Regions from separate parts of the Homo sapiens genome. Here region 2 is linked to region 1. The links are contacts of gene promoters, found by promoter capture Hi-C in human tissues and cell types (Jung and others, 2019). All regions are on one chromosome and are shown on one strand. The core of a region is centred on a gene start or on the middle of the fragment in contact, and the rest is flanking DNA. Distances in the headings are between cores, read along the strand shown. Region 1 holds the start of GAPVD1 (GTPase activating protein and VPS9 domains 1). Region 2 overlaps NR6A1 (nuclear receptor subfamily 6 group A member 1).

Evidence for each region. The method cuts DNA at HindIII sites, captures the fragments that hold promoters and counts their contacts. A contact is called where the count stands out against the background at its distance.
Region 2: a fragment that was not itself captured here is called in contact with the fragment with the promoter of GAPVD1 in region 1 in 1 of the 25 tissues and cell types used here (lymphoblastoid cells).

Annotation. Positions count from the first base shown.
Region 1 is chr9:125,257,394-125,264,291 of GRCh38, forward strand. It overlaps GAPVD1 (GTPase activating protein and VPS9 domains 1), which reads left to right and starts at 4,433. Exons shown (of 28, transcript NM_001282680.3): 1 at 4,433-4,566. It also overlaps the pseudogene RPS10P17. RefSeq lists silencers at 748-1,006, 4,330-4,511, 4,450-4,579. The HindIII fragment of the contact is 6,614 bases long and covers 1,087-6,898 here.
Region 2 is chr9:124,647,751-124,654,910 of GRCh38, forward strand. All of the region lies in intron 2 of NR6A1 (nuclear receptor subfamily 6 group A member 1), which reads right to left. Among named protein-coding and RNA genes, the nearest start is that of MIR181A2HG, 7.1 kb to the right of the region's middle. The HindIII fragment of the contact is 5,680 bases long and covers 3,034-7,160 here.

The DNA of each region.
Region 1 (6,898 bases), core at 3,183-5,682:
TGCTGAAATAAAATCATGTCATAGGTGAAGTCCTTGTTTCTTCCCTTTTGTCTTCCTCTTTCTCTGTAATCTTTATTTCTTATGGCCTGTTTTTCTTTCTGGTATGGTTTGGTCTCACTTAACTCTCATATTTCTTTCTTAAGTGTAGATGTATTGTAACTTAAACAATGTTACTTTTTGGTCTTGATGGATGGCTCACACCTGTAATTCCAGCACTTTGGGAGGCTGAGGTGGGCAGATCACCTGAGGTTGGGAGTTCGAGACCAGCCTGACCAACATGGAGAAACCCCGTCTCTACTAAAAATACAAAATTTGCTGGCGCAGTAGCTCACACCTGTAATCCCAGCACTTTGGGAGGCCGAGGCGGGCAGATCACGAGGTCAGGAGTTCAAGACCAGCCTGGCCAACATAGTGAAACCCTGTCTGAACTAAAAATACAAAAATTAGCCAGGGATGGTGGCGTGCGCTTGTAGTCTCAGCTACTCTGGAGGTTGAGGCAGGAGAATCACTTGAACCTGGGAGGCGGAGGTTATGGTGAGCTGATATCGCGCCATGGCACTCCAGCCTGGGCAACAAGAGCGAAACTCCATAAAAAAAAAAAAAAAAATTAGCCGGGCATGGTGGCCCGAACTGTAATCCCAGCTGTTCGGGAGGCTGAGGCATGAGAATTGCTTGAACCTGGGAGGCGGAGGTTGTGGTAAGCCGAGATCGTGCCATTGTACTCCAGCCTGGGCAATAAGAGCGAAACTCTGTCTCAAAAAAGAAAAAGAAAAAGAAAAATTAGCCAGGCATGGTGGCGTGCACCTGTAATCCCAGCTGAGGATTAGGCATGAGAACTGCTTGATCCCAGGAGGTGGAGGTTGCAGTGAGTTGAGATCATTCCACTGCACTCCAGCCTGGGCAACAGAGTGAGACTCCATCTCAAACAAAACAAAACAAAACAAAACAAAAAACAAACAGGCGAGCCCAGCACAGCGGTGCAAGCCTGTGGTCCCAGGTACTCAGGAAGCTGAGGCATGAGGATCCCTTGAGCCCTCACGATAGCACCTGTGAATAGTTACTGCATTCTAGCCTGGGCAACATAGCAAGACCTATTTCTAAAATAAAAATGTAGACAAATTATTACATTCTAGGCAGTACGCCCAGTGGTGAATAAGATGGAGTCTGCGCCCTCAGGGACTATGTGTTGGTTTAAATTTTCACCTCAAGTTAACATTTGTGATTCAATATAAGTGATGAAGTTTGGGGGCCTTTGAGGGACCTGGGGATAAAGTGTTTTTTTGTCCAGAAATACTTGCCAGAGGCCCCTTAAATCACTTGGCCATAGCATCTGCTTTCTTGGCTTACTTCTAAGACTGGCTGTGTACACATAGAAGGAAAAAGAACATTAAAAAAAATGTTTTGCGATTCTAAGGCAGAGTAGTTTAATAGAGTATGGAGTTGGGAGGCTGAAGAACTAAACTCTACACAAGGTCCAGTATGAATTTTGTGACCATGAACAAGTAACTTCATATCCTTCTATGTCAGGGAAGACTGAGTTGTGTATGGAAAGAAAGGGGCTTTGGACAGAGTTTACTGTGTATTCATCCATTCATTTAAAAAACAAAAAACAAACATTACATTCTAGGCAGTATGCCAGGTTCTAGGGAGACAGTGATCTGCCCTCAGTGAGTACTACTTATTGATTTTGAGCAAATTTTCACCTCTTGAGTTTACTTTCCCATTTGTAAAAGGGATGAAAATAATACCTATTCCATATTTCCCAAGAATCACTGTTGTAGTGATCCATAGTTCTAGCAGGAGATTTGAATTCCTTGAGTGTGCTGACTGGAAAAAAAAAAGAAAATTGCTTGTTAGTTCAAGTTCTTCATTTGTAGGTGACAGAACAGGGCTCAGAAGATTAACTGACCATTCTAGTTCCTTTTTTACTTCTCACATGCAATGCAGCTTCCCTGAAGATTCTTTTGCAACTTTTGGGGCCTCTCCTTCCCTTCCTCCCTGGCCTGGGTGCTCCAGCCTACCCAGACGCAGTGTTCCAGAGCCCACTGTGAATGTGGTTTTGCTAAGGCTGAGTTCTTCCTTAGCAGTCCACGAATGCCATCTCTTGTCTTGAAATCCAGCCATCCAGTAACTCCTAACTGTCACCTCTTCCATAAGGTCATGAACCCTCAACTTGAAAAGGCCATTCTCTCTGAGAATCTCAGAATGCTTTGTACCTTGGCTTATTATGATGATCCTTAATCTGTGGCAGTTTCATCCTACCCTAGATTGTAAATTGTATCCTCTTGCTTATTTCTTTTCTTTTTTTTTTTTTCTTGAGACAGAGTCTCGCTCTGTCGCCCAGGCTGGAGTGCAGTGGCACGATCTCCACTCACTGCAAGCTCCGTCTCCCGGGTTCACGCCATTCTCCTGCCTCAGCCTCCCGTGTAGCTGGGACTACAGGCGCCTGCCACCATGCCCGGCTAATTTTTTGTATTTTTAGTAGAGACAGGTTTCTACCGTGTTAGCCAGGATGGTCTCGATCTCCTGACCTCATGATCCGCCCACCTCGGCCTCCCAAAGTGCTGGGATTACAGGCGTGAGCCACTGCGCCCGGCCTCCTCTTGCTTATTTCATGCCAGCGGTGCATTGAGTAATGTCTTGTAACAGAGCTGATTGAATTCCTGAATGAGTTGAATGGCAGCACGATAGCAATAACATCTGACCAGCCTACCATAGGTGGTTCTATTACTACCTATGTAGTCATAAAACAAGGCAATAAATATGAAGCAATTCTGTCAATGTTGTTGTTGCTGTTTTGTTTTGAGACAGGTTTCACTCTGCTGCCCAGGATGGAGTTCAGTGGCATGATCACAGCTCACTGCAGCCTTGACCTTTTTGGGCTTGGTGATCCTCCCACTTCAGCCTCCCTAGTAGCTGGGACTACAGGTGCAAGCCACCATGCCTCGCTGATTTTTGTATTTTTTGTAGAGTTGGGGTTTCACTATGTTGCTCAGGCTGGTCTTGAACTTCTGGGCTCAAGCAATCCTCCTGCCTTGGCCTCGCAAAGTGCTAGGATTATAGGCATATGCCACCATGCCCCTAAAGGTGACATCAAGAGAGGTGAGTAGATAGAAAGCAGTTTGGGAGTTGATTGACATTTGAAATAGCTGGGGAAATGATTATTACTTTTTTCCTTTTTTTGCCTGGAGACTCCCAGTATTGGAGGATATAATCATTGTTCTCAATTTTTTGAAGATCTGTCAAGTGGAAGACATTCTGTATTGCTCCAGGCAGCCTAACTACCAGCAATGGAAGGAAATAAAGGGAAACAGATTTCAGCTCAGCAGGAGGCAGAACTTTCTAACATTTAGAGCTGTCCAACAGTGGAGCAGGCTGCATTACTTGAGGGAGTGAGCTCCCTGAAATTTGAACTGTTGAACAGGAAGATGACCATCTGGCTGAATGTACAGGAGGGAATTCCTGCCTGGGCAACAGTTGCACTAGTGACCTTTAAGCAGGTATCTTCCAATTTTAAGGTTTCTAGACTGTTCAACTCAGCTAACTTGACCTCTGAATATATGAGTTATGGTGTTACAAAAATTATTAGACAGTTCATTTATTGACTTACCTAAAATAACTGCATGGTGAAGTTTATGATAAGCAAGATTTTAGAAACTGAGAAGTGGGAAGGCAGGTTTTACACTGAAAATCCAGATACCATCCAAACCAATTAATGGCACTTAGAACAAAAGGGAAGGGAGGGGCCGGCAGCGGTGGCTCACGCCTGTAATCCCAGCACTTTGGGAGGCCGAGGCGGGCGGATCACGAGGTCAGGAGATCGAGACCATCCTGGCTAACACGGTGAAACCTCGTCTCTACTAAAAATCAAAAAATTAGCCGGGCGTGGTGGCGGGCGCTTGTAGTTCCAGCTACTTGGGAGGCTGAGGCGGGAGAATGGCGTGAACCCGGGAGGCGGAGCTTGCAGTGAGCCGAGATTGAGCCACTGCACTCCAGCCTGGGCGACAGAGCCAGACTCCGTCTCGAAAAAAAAAAAAAAAGGGAAGGGAGGTTTGTAAGTAGTGTGTGCGTACGTGTGAGAGAGAAACAGAGAAGAGAGAGAGTCATTCATGCGAATAATGTGTCCTGGGCAACTGAGCGTTGTCACAGAAAGCATAAAACGCTCTACATTTTTGCTTTACACATACTTGCTCAGTCGGATTCTTCACGTCCAGCATTACTGCAGGCGGAAACCAGGGCCCAGGCCTGGTGAACAGCCTTCCGGAAGACGATTCCGGACCCGGACACCCACGACAGCCTCAGGGGGCAGCTGACCTAGGGCTGCCTAAGGCGGAAGTGGGAGCCCCTAGCCGCCCGGGCGGAACTACAGCTCCCAGAGGCCCCCGCGGCGCTGCGCACGCGCGCTGGCGTGGCGGCAGCGCCGCTGCAGGACGCAGGGAAGCCAACAGGCGAGTGGCGAAGGTGGCGGCAGCGGCGGCGGGGGCAGTCACCGGCTAGGGCGACGGCTCCGAGGCCGAGTGGCGGTCCGACAGAGTCCTCCGTGTCCTCCCCCGCATGACCCCCTTGGTGAGTACGCGTCCCGATTTAGTCCGCGGGCTGTGAGCGGCTCCCTGCCTCGCGGCCGGGTTGCTCCGGCCTAGGGCCGCAGCCTGTCTCTGACTGCCCGGCCGTCAGGTCCAACTGACCCCGGGGTCCTGGGCTCTTCCCGTCAGTGTCGGGCGAGGTGGGGGTCGGGGGACACTGGGTTAGACCCAGGGGAGAGATGTGGCGGCGCGCAGGAGCCAGGGCGGCCTGGGGCTGAGGAGAGGGAGAGACGCGTGGGGGATGGGATGGGAAGGGACAGGAGGACCGCGGGGCGGCCTCGGGTGGGGGCCAGAGACGAGAGGCCCGGCAGGTAGGGAACTGAGTATAGGAGGCGAGAACGAAATGGAATGTCTTCTGAGTGTCGCTGATAAAGATATCGTGCTGCAGGGAAGCTTGACAAGCTGGACACACGGGTCTGGGGGCAGCCCACCTAACACAGACACTCACTGTACTTGGCATCTTTCCACTTGCTGTCGGAGGTCTGAAAGTGAGGGAGCTGTTGGTTGTTTCCATCCCTTTTCTTTTAACTTCACCTTTTATTGACTGGCAAAATTGTAGTGAGTGCTGGCTAGGCAAACCACAGAAGTACACCCAGGGTTCTGTGTATAAATGTGCATAAAAACAGGGAGACATAGTGATAGGTTCAGATGAGAACTAGGTCAAAGGAGGAATCAGTGTTTTTATTTTTAAATTTATGACGAAAATCAGTTCTGAGCAGGACTTTGAACTAGAGAGGGGTTTTAAACTGGAGTTCATTGATGGATAGAATTAGAAGGGTCCTTTCACTAGAAGGAGGATAAAATGACATCATTATTTTTATTGACTGCTAACTGAAACTTATTATTTCCTTCAGTTACGAATGTGGACAACAAGCCAGAGTAGCATTAGCAGCGCCTATGACTTTGTGATCAATAAAAATTACGGATATTTTTGCATCATGTTTACAGTTGCAGATAGCTCAGAATATCATTTATGGTTAACACTTCTTTGAATTTCTGGTGTTACTAGACCCGCCGTTAGACATTGTTATTTAATGTGATAATAAGGCTGTACATATATTATGACCATATTAGTTTGTTGTTTTGCTAATATTTCCATATAATTGGTTTCCCTTGTAATCACATGTATTTAATTATGCACTTAAAAGAAATCTGAGAAAGGGACCATAGGCTTCACCAAACTGCCAATGAGGTCCGTGCACAAAAAGATTAAGAACTCCTGAAATAATTTGGGAGGCCGAGGCGGGCGGATCATTGAGGTCAAGAGATCGAGACCATCCTGGCCAACATGGTGAAACCCCATCTCTACTAAAAATACAAAAATTAGTTGGGTGTGGTGGCCCATGCCTGTAATCCCAGCTACTTGGGAGGCTGAGGCAAGAGAATCACTTGAGCCCGGGAGGTGGATATTGCAGTGAGCCAAGATCACGCCACTGCACTCCAGCCTGGCAACAGAGCGAGACTCCGTCTCAAAAAACAAAACAAAACAAAAAAACTCCTGAAATAGAAATAAGGTTTTTTGGATTTATAAGTCTACTTAGAAGAACTGTTGTTTTTTTTTTTTTGGTTGTAAGTTTATTCAATGCAAAAGAATCCTCTCCAATTTTACTGAGGTGGCTGACCACGTCCACGACCAAATCCGTCTCAACTGGAATTTGGCTGCTGACCCAGCCCCAGCCTCAGCTTTCTTGTCGGCACTAAGTGGCACAGCACTCCATCTGTAGGTATGTCTGTCAGCACTCCATCTGTAGGTATGTCTGTCAGCTTCCCCTCTTGTGAGTCTCGCAGGTCACTCACCCTCCAGACCTTTAGGCTGAGGCCTGCCGGTCTCTGGACAGCTATGGCGTAGGGTAGCAGGTACAGTCTCCGGGGGGCAGATGAAGGTAATCCCGGAGATACTGGATACCCTCATTGGTAAGGTACCAGTAGAAATGTCTCCAGGCAAACTGTTCCTTCATGTAGCCTTGAGACTTGAGAGACTGCATGGCCTTCATGACATGAAGGTTGGGCACGTTCTTGTCTGCCAGCTCTGGGTGCTTAGGCATGTGGACATCCTTCTTGGCCACCATGACTCCCTCCTTAAAAAGGAGTTCATAAATGGCAATCTGGTTCTTTAGAAGAACATTTGAATCATTGAAGGCAGACAGGATGACAGTGTAGACGAAAGAGAATTTCATAATCAGGGAGATAAAAAATTTGGATGGGATCAGGGTAGTCTTTTGTTTTGTTTTGTTTTGAGACGGAGTCTGGCTCTGTTGCCTAGGCTGGAGTGCAGTGGCATGATCTCCGCTCACTGCGACCTCAGCTTCCTGGGT
Region 2 (7,160 bases), core at 4,624-7,123, 610 kb before region 1:
AAAGAAAAGAAAAAAGAAATAGAAAACCTTAACAGAACAATAATGAGTAGCAAGAAAGAGGCAGTAATAAAAAGTTTCCCATCAAAGAAAAGCCCAGGACATGATGGTTTTGCTGCTGAATTATATGAAACACTTAAAGAACTAATACCAATGGTATGCAAAACTATTCCAAAAAATTGAAGAGGAACACTTCCAAACTCATTCTAAAAGGCCATCCTTACCCTGATACCAAAGCCAAAGACACAACAACAACAGAAACTACAGGCTAGTATCTCTGATGAACACAGATGCAAAAATCCTCAATAGAATACTAGGCAAACTGAATTCAGCAACACATTAAAAAAAATCATTCACCATGATCAAGTGGGATTCATCCCAGGGATGCAAGGATAATTCAACATATACAAATCCATAAACAGGATATGTTACATTAACAGAATCAAGAACAAAAACCAGGTGAGACATAGTGGTTGTAATCCACCACACGCCTGTAATCCAGCACTTTGGGTGGCCAACACAGGAGGACTGCTCGAGTCCAGGAGTTCGAGACCAGCCTGGGCAACATAGCGAGACCCCATCTCTACCAAAATAAATAAATAAATAAAATACATGTGATCATTTTAAAAGATGCTAAAAAGTATTTAATAAAATTCAATACCACTTCATAATAAAAACTCAAAAACTGTGTATAGAAGGAACATACCTTAAAATACAATAAAGACCACATATCCATGACAAACTCACAGCTGGCATCATACTGGATGGGGGTAAACTGAAAGCCTGGAACATGAATGCCGACTTTCATCCTTTTATTCAAATAGTACTGAATGTATAAGCCAGAGCAATTAAAATTAGACAAGAGAAAGAAATAAAGGGCAGCCAAACTGTAAAAGAAGAAGTCAAACTGTCCTTGTTTGCAGACATGATCTTTTATTTGGAAAACCTAAAGATACTGCTAAAAAAAAAAAAGGCATTAGAACTCAGAAACAAAATAAGTAATGCTGTAGGATACAAAATCAACATACAAAAATCGGTAGCATTTCTATATGCCAACAGCAAACAATAAGAAAACAAAATCAGGAAAGCAATCCCACTTACAAAAGCTCTAAAAAATAAAAAATAAAATACCTAGAAATAGAATTAACCAAAAAAGTGAAAGATCTCGACAATGAAAACTATAAAACACTGATGAAATTGTGGGATTACACACAAAAAAGGAAAGACATCCCATGTTCATAAAGTGAAAGGATATTGTTAAAATATCCACACTATCCAAAGAGATCTACAGATAAAATGCAATTCCTATCAAAATACCAATGACATTCTTCGCAGAAATAGAAAAATCCTAAAATTCATATGAAACCTCAAAAGACCCCAAATAGCCAAAGCAATCCTGAACTAAAAGAACACAGGTGGAGGTATCACACTACCTGACTTCAAAATATACTACCAAAGCTATAGTAAGAAAGTGTGGTACTGGCACAAAAAAAAAAAAAAAAAAAAAAGACACATAGACCGATGGAACAGAATAGAGAACCCAGAATAAATCCACACATTTACAGTCAAATCATTTTCAATAAAGGCATCAAGAACATTCATTGGCAAAAGGACAGTCACTCCAATAAATGGCACTGGGAAAGCGAGATGTCCATATGCAGAAGAAAGAAACTAGATCCTGTTCTCTTACTACATAAAAAAATCAAATCAAAATGGGTTGAAGACTTATATGTAAGACCTGAGACTACACTACTACTACAAGAAAACACTGGGGAAATGCTTCAGGACACGGGTCTGGCAAAGATTCTTTGAGTTAGACCTCAAAAGCACAGGCAACAAAAGCAGAAATTGACAAATGGGGTTATATCAAGCTAAAAAGCTTCTGCATAGCAAAGAAAACAACCGACAAAATAAAGAGATAACCTAAAGAATGGGAGAAAATATTTGCAAATTATCCCACTGACAAGAGATGAATAACTAAATATACACGGAACTCAATAGCAAAAAGCTCCAAATAATCCAATTTTAAAATGGGAAAAAAAGATGAAGAGACATTTCTCAAAAGCAGACACACAAATGGCTAACAGATATATTTTTAAAAATACTCAACATCATTAATCATTGAAGGAATAAAAATCAAAACTACAAGATATTATCTCACCCCATTAAAATGGCTATTATAAAAAAGACTGGTGCTGGTGAGGATGCAGAGAAAAGGGGAACACTTCTACACTGTTGATGGGAATGTAAATTAGTTCACCCATTATGGAAAACAGTATGGAAGTTCCTCAAATAACTAAAAATAGAACTACCATATGATCCAGCAATCCTACTGCTGGCTATATTTCCAAAAGAAAGGAAATCCGTATATCAAAGAGATATCTGCACTCTCATGTTTATTGCACCACTATTCACAACAGCCAAGATATCAGACATGAAATCAACCTAAGGGTCCATCACCAAATGAGCGGATAAATAAAATGTGCATAAGTACACAATGGAGTATTATTCAGCCATAAAAAAGAATAAAATCCCATCATTTGCAGCAACATGGATGGAACTGTTAAGTGAATAAGCTGGGCACCGAAAGACAAATATCACATGTTCCCACTCATACATGGGAGCTTAAAAAAAAACAACTGATCTCATGGAAGTAATGAATAGAATGGTGATCACCAGAGGCTGGGAAGGGTAGAGGGACAGTGGGGGATGAAGAGAGGTTGGTTAATAGGTACAAAAATACAGTTAGAGAGAAGGAATAAGTTCTAGTATTTGATAGCACAGTAGGGCAACTGTGGTTCACAACAATTTACCGCATATTTCAAAATGGATAGAAGAGAGTATTTGGAATGTTCCAAGACAAACAGCTGATAAATGTTGTAGGTGATTTCCCTATTACCCCAATTTGATCATTACACATTGTATGCATGTATCAAAATATCACATGTACCCTATAAATATATACAATTATATATCAATTGAAGTAACAACAACAACAAATAACTTTCCAAAACAGAAAGCAGTAGGCCCAGATGGGCTCACTGGTGAATTCTAGTAAACACTTAAGGAAGAAATTATACCAATTCTCTACCATCTCTTTTTAAACTTGAAACATTCAGGAATAGTCTGTCACTTTAGAAAAAAGTCTGTCCTAAGGGGTATAATCACCACCACCACTCTCCAAACCCTGGCAATGCCCCCAAAAGGCACTGGCAATGCTTTAGTGAAGACTATAAATAGGTAATAGAAAGAAAGGACTTTGGAGACCAAAAAACAAGCAAACAACAATCTGAATTGGGTTACTAGCTCTTTTTGTTTTTCTTTTTGAGACAGAGTCTCACTCTGCTGCCCACACTGGAGTGCAGTGGTTCCATCTCAGCTCACTGCAACCTCCAGCTTCCCAGGCACAAGTGATCCCCCTGCCTCAGCCTCCCAAGTAGCTAGGACTACAAGTGTGTGCCACTATGCCTGGTTAATTTTTGTATTTTTTTTTTAGAGATGGGGTTTTGCCACGTCGCCCAGGCTGGTCTCAAACTGCTGGGCTCAAGTGATCCGTCCACCTCGGCCTCCCAAAGTGCTGGAATTACAGGCATGAGCCACTGCGCCCAGCCACTGGCTCTGTCTTACTAATCTTTTATCTCAGCCAAAAATTGAATTTGATTACTGGCTTTGTCTTATGAACCTTGGAGAAGTTAGTTAACCATGTCACATCTCAATTTCCAAATACTTATGGAAGAGGAAATGACAATACCAACTTAATAAGAATGCTGTAAGAATTCAAAGTAACAATTTTACAAAGTACCTACCATAGGGGTTGGCCCCACAGTGGTTCCCTTCTCCCTTTCTTTTTGCCCAATCTACTTTGCCATCTTTGCCCAGATGATAAAACTGGGGACAAAAATACAAAGTAAAAATACGAAGTTCTACTATATATACGGTTTACACTAAAATAGGCCTCATTACATATCTAAAGAAATTATCCAAAATCCATGGCTTTAATTATACAATCAAAGCATTAACACCGGACTAGTCTCTTTTGCAAAGAAAATATGCATTTTCCTGGCAGCCATAGAGTAATAGTTTAAGATCTGTGCCTCCACCCCAATCCTACCCACACAATTTGATCCTCTTCCCAAGTAGACATTGGCACCTGACCATTTCTGCCTCTCCCAAGAAACAAAGAGGCCCAAAAGCTTGACAGCCAATCTAATTTAAGTCCAAAGGAGAAGAAAACGATGTCCAAGTAACGGCAGAATAAAGGAAAAAAACAAACAAATCTGAGCTAGTTAAAAAAGGAAACCAGCAGAAGACTAACCTCCTGTTTTTTATTGAAAAGCGACTGCATGAAGACTAAAAAACTAGCCCCAACCCCTAAGTCTGGATTGATTTAAAGTGGTGGAGGTAGGTATTCCAGGCAAATCCCTCAATGCACAAGAGTAAAGAAGCAGCTCTATTTCCACACTGTTGGATTTTCATGGGCTTCCTCTGATATAACCTATTATTTCCAAGGCCTAGGAATGTCCCCTCCTCAACTGTCTTATCAGCTTGGGGTTACAACCCAGCTCTAAGGAGAAGGGTATGACTTTTAAAATTAAGGTGTAATGAAGTTTCTCTCCTAATCTCATTACTACCTGGCTGTGTGACTGCTTATGAATCATTTCCTCTCTCTGAGCCTCAATATTACTTCTCTGCAAAATGAGGATAATACTGTTCCCCTGACAGCACTGTTATGAGAATTAATTCAAAAACCAATGTCAAATGTGCCTAGTACAGTGCATGGCTCATAGCAGACAACAACGGGAATTAATTTCCTTCCTTTCCCTTTGACACAGCCTTATCCTCCAAGAAGAAAAAGGGACATCATTCCTTCTTTCCATAAAATTAACTCAGTACCATGACCAGGTCAGAAATGCCAGGGCTGGAGCCAGACTCTAGATACAGCCCTTCCCATATCTGAGCATGAACTCCAAGTCACATTGCAACAGCACACTTTTGAGAGGCCACACACTCACGCAGAAGCTAGGTCTCACACCCAGCTATTACTTTAAAAAGCCAAGATTAGCTCAAGGCTAGGTGAGTAATGAGATGTAAGTGCTCTGGGAATCTGTCCATTCCCAGCATAACTAATGAGTAGCGTCAGTTGTATTCTGCCCCAGAGAGGGACCAACAACTCCAGATGGCCAACAACTCTGAAAAATGCTGAGGCAATGATCAGAGGAAGAATATTTCTGCCCCTTCCTACAGCCTCTGCTTTGGGAAATTTACATTTTGTATAATCATTATTAAAGGTTATTTGTGCTTTTTTTTCCCTTCAGTTTCATTAATAGAGAATCTATATAACATAGTACGAGCAAGAACTTTGGAATCAAGCTCTGGTTCAAGTCTCAGCTCTGCCTCTTCCTTGCTATGTGACACTGGACAAGTCATTTAACCACCAGAGCCTCAGTTTTCTCACCTTTTGTGCTTTCCAAAGTTCTGGCTGCCCCTTCAGTAAGCTGTGAAATCAACTGAGTAGCTTGCAAGTAACTTTTTTTTTTTTTTAGTAAAAAGAAGAAAGTATCAGATGACACTACATGATATTTTACTATGAAAATACTAGATGTCACTTGCCTATAAAATGGGACTATCAGGTGTATGCTGTTATTTTCTGTATTTGTCAGAGGTTTGTTTTGTTGTTGTTTTTTAAGAGACAGAGTCTCTGTCACCATCCTGGAGTATGGTGGCATCATCATAGCTCACTGCAGCCTTGAACTCCTGCACTCAAGTGACCCTCTCTCCTCACCCTCACAAGTAACTAGAACTACAGGCACATATCATCAAGCCAGGCAAATTTATTTTTTGTAGATATGGGGGTCTTACTATGTTGCTAAGGCTGGTCTCGAACTCCTGGCCTCAAGCAATCCTTCCACCATGGCGTCCCAAAGCACTGGCATTACAGGCATGAGCCAAGGCCCCTGGCCTATACTTTTCAGAGTTTTTGAGAAATTGAAAAAATAAAATAATGTAGGTCAAATGTTAGCAATTAACCCTACTAGAGTCAGAATAGCTGAATACAACCTTATTTATGAATAGTAAGAAAGTTCCTCTTCACTTATCAATTTCAGATTTCCAGAAGTATGTCTTCAAGAACATATTATTAACCAAACAGTCAGCCAACATTATGTGCCGAGGACATATGCTTCTAAATTATTGACAAAGAAAGATCAGGTCTAATTAATAACTGAATTTTATCCTAAATTAATACAGAGAATCAGGCTGCAAAACCCTACCCAGGCAACAGTGATGTATGAAAATGCTGGAAGAAGCTCTCGTTGAACAAACCCTCTCTGTTGTGGAAAGGGCAATGAAACCAATGTTAGCCCCAAAATGGTTATAAAAGAAATATGATTCTTCTAGGACACTCAAAGGTGGCCACTGACATGTGAGAACCTTGGCAAGATTCTCAGCTTGGGAGGAACCCCAGTTAAAGATAGTGTCAAGGGGGCCTCAGAGGACTAAACATAGACAAGAACTGCACACAAGGACTTCTTCGGCCTGCAGAACAAGTTACCATTCTGCTTAAAACCTTCCAATGTCCTACTATTTGGGGGGAAAAAAACAAATTTGGGAAAAAATACACTTGGAAAAAACCCAAATTTCTTACTATAGCTTACAAGGTCCTATGTGATAGGGCCCCATCCCACCTCTCCAACATCACCCCTACTTGCATTCACTCCATTTTAGCCATACTACCCTTTTGGCTCCTCAAGCACACTAAGCTCAATCCCACATGAGAGCTCTTGCATTTCTTGTTGCCACTACCCAGTTCATTCTTCTGGCTCTTTGTAGGCTGAGGTTCTTCATGTCATGACTTGGCTCTCAGCTTGCATACTTTGGTTCCTCAGAGAGGCATAGCCCGATACTTCCTCATTCAAGATGTCTCCCAATCCACCACATCCCACCAGTCAGTCATTCTCCATCACCACACTACCCTATTTTCTTCACAGTGTAGCTTCATGTTTCACTTCATAGTACTTTGAGAATTCATTTTTCTGTCTCCCCATTAGAATGTAAGCTCCATAAAAACCTTTGTTTTGTTCCTGATACCTAGATACTGGTTGCTTTTATACATACATTTTTTTTTTTTGTACACACACACACACACACACACACACACACACACA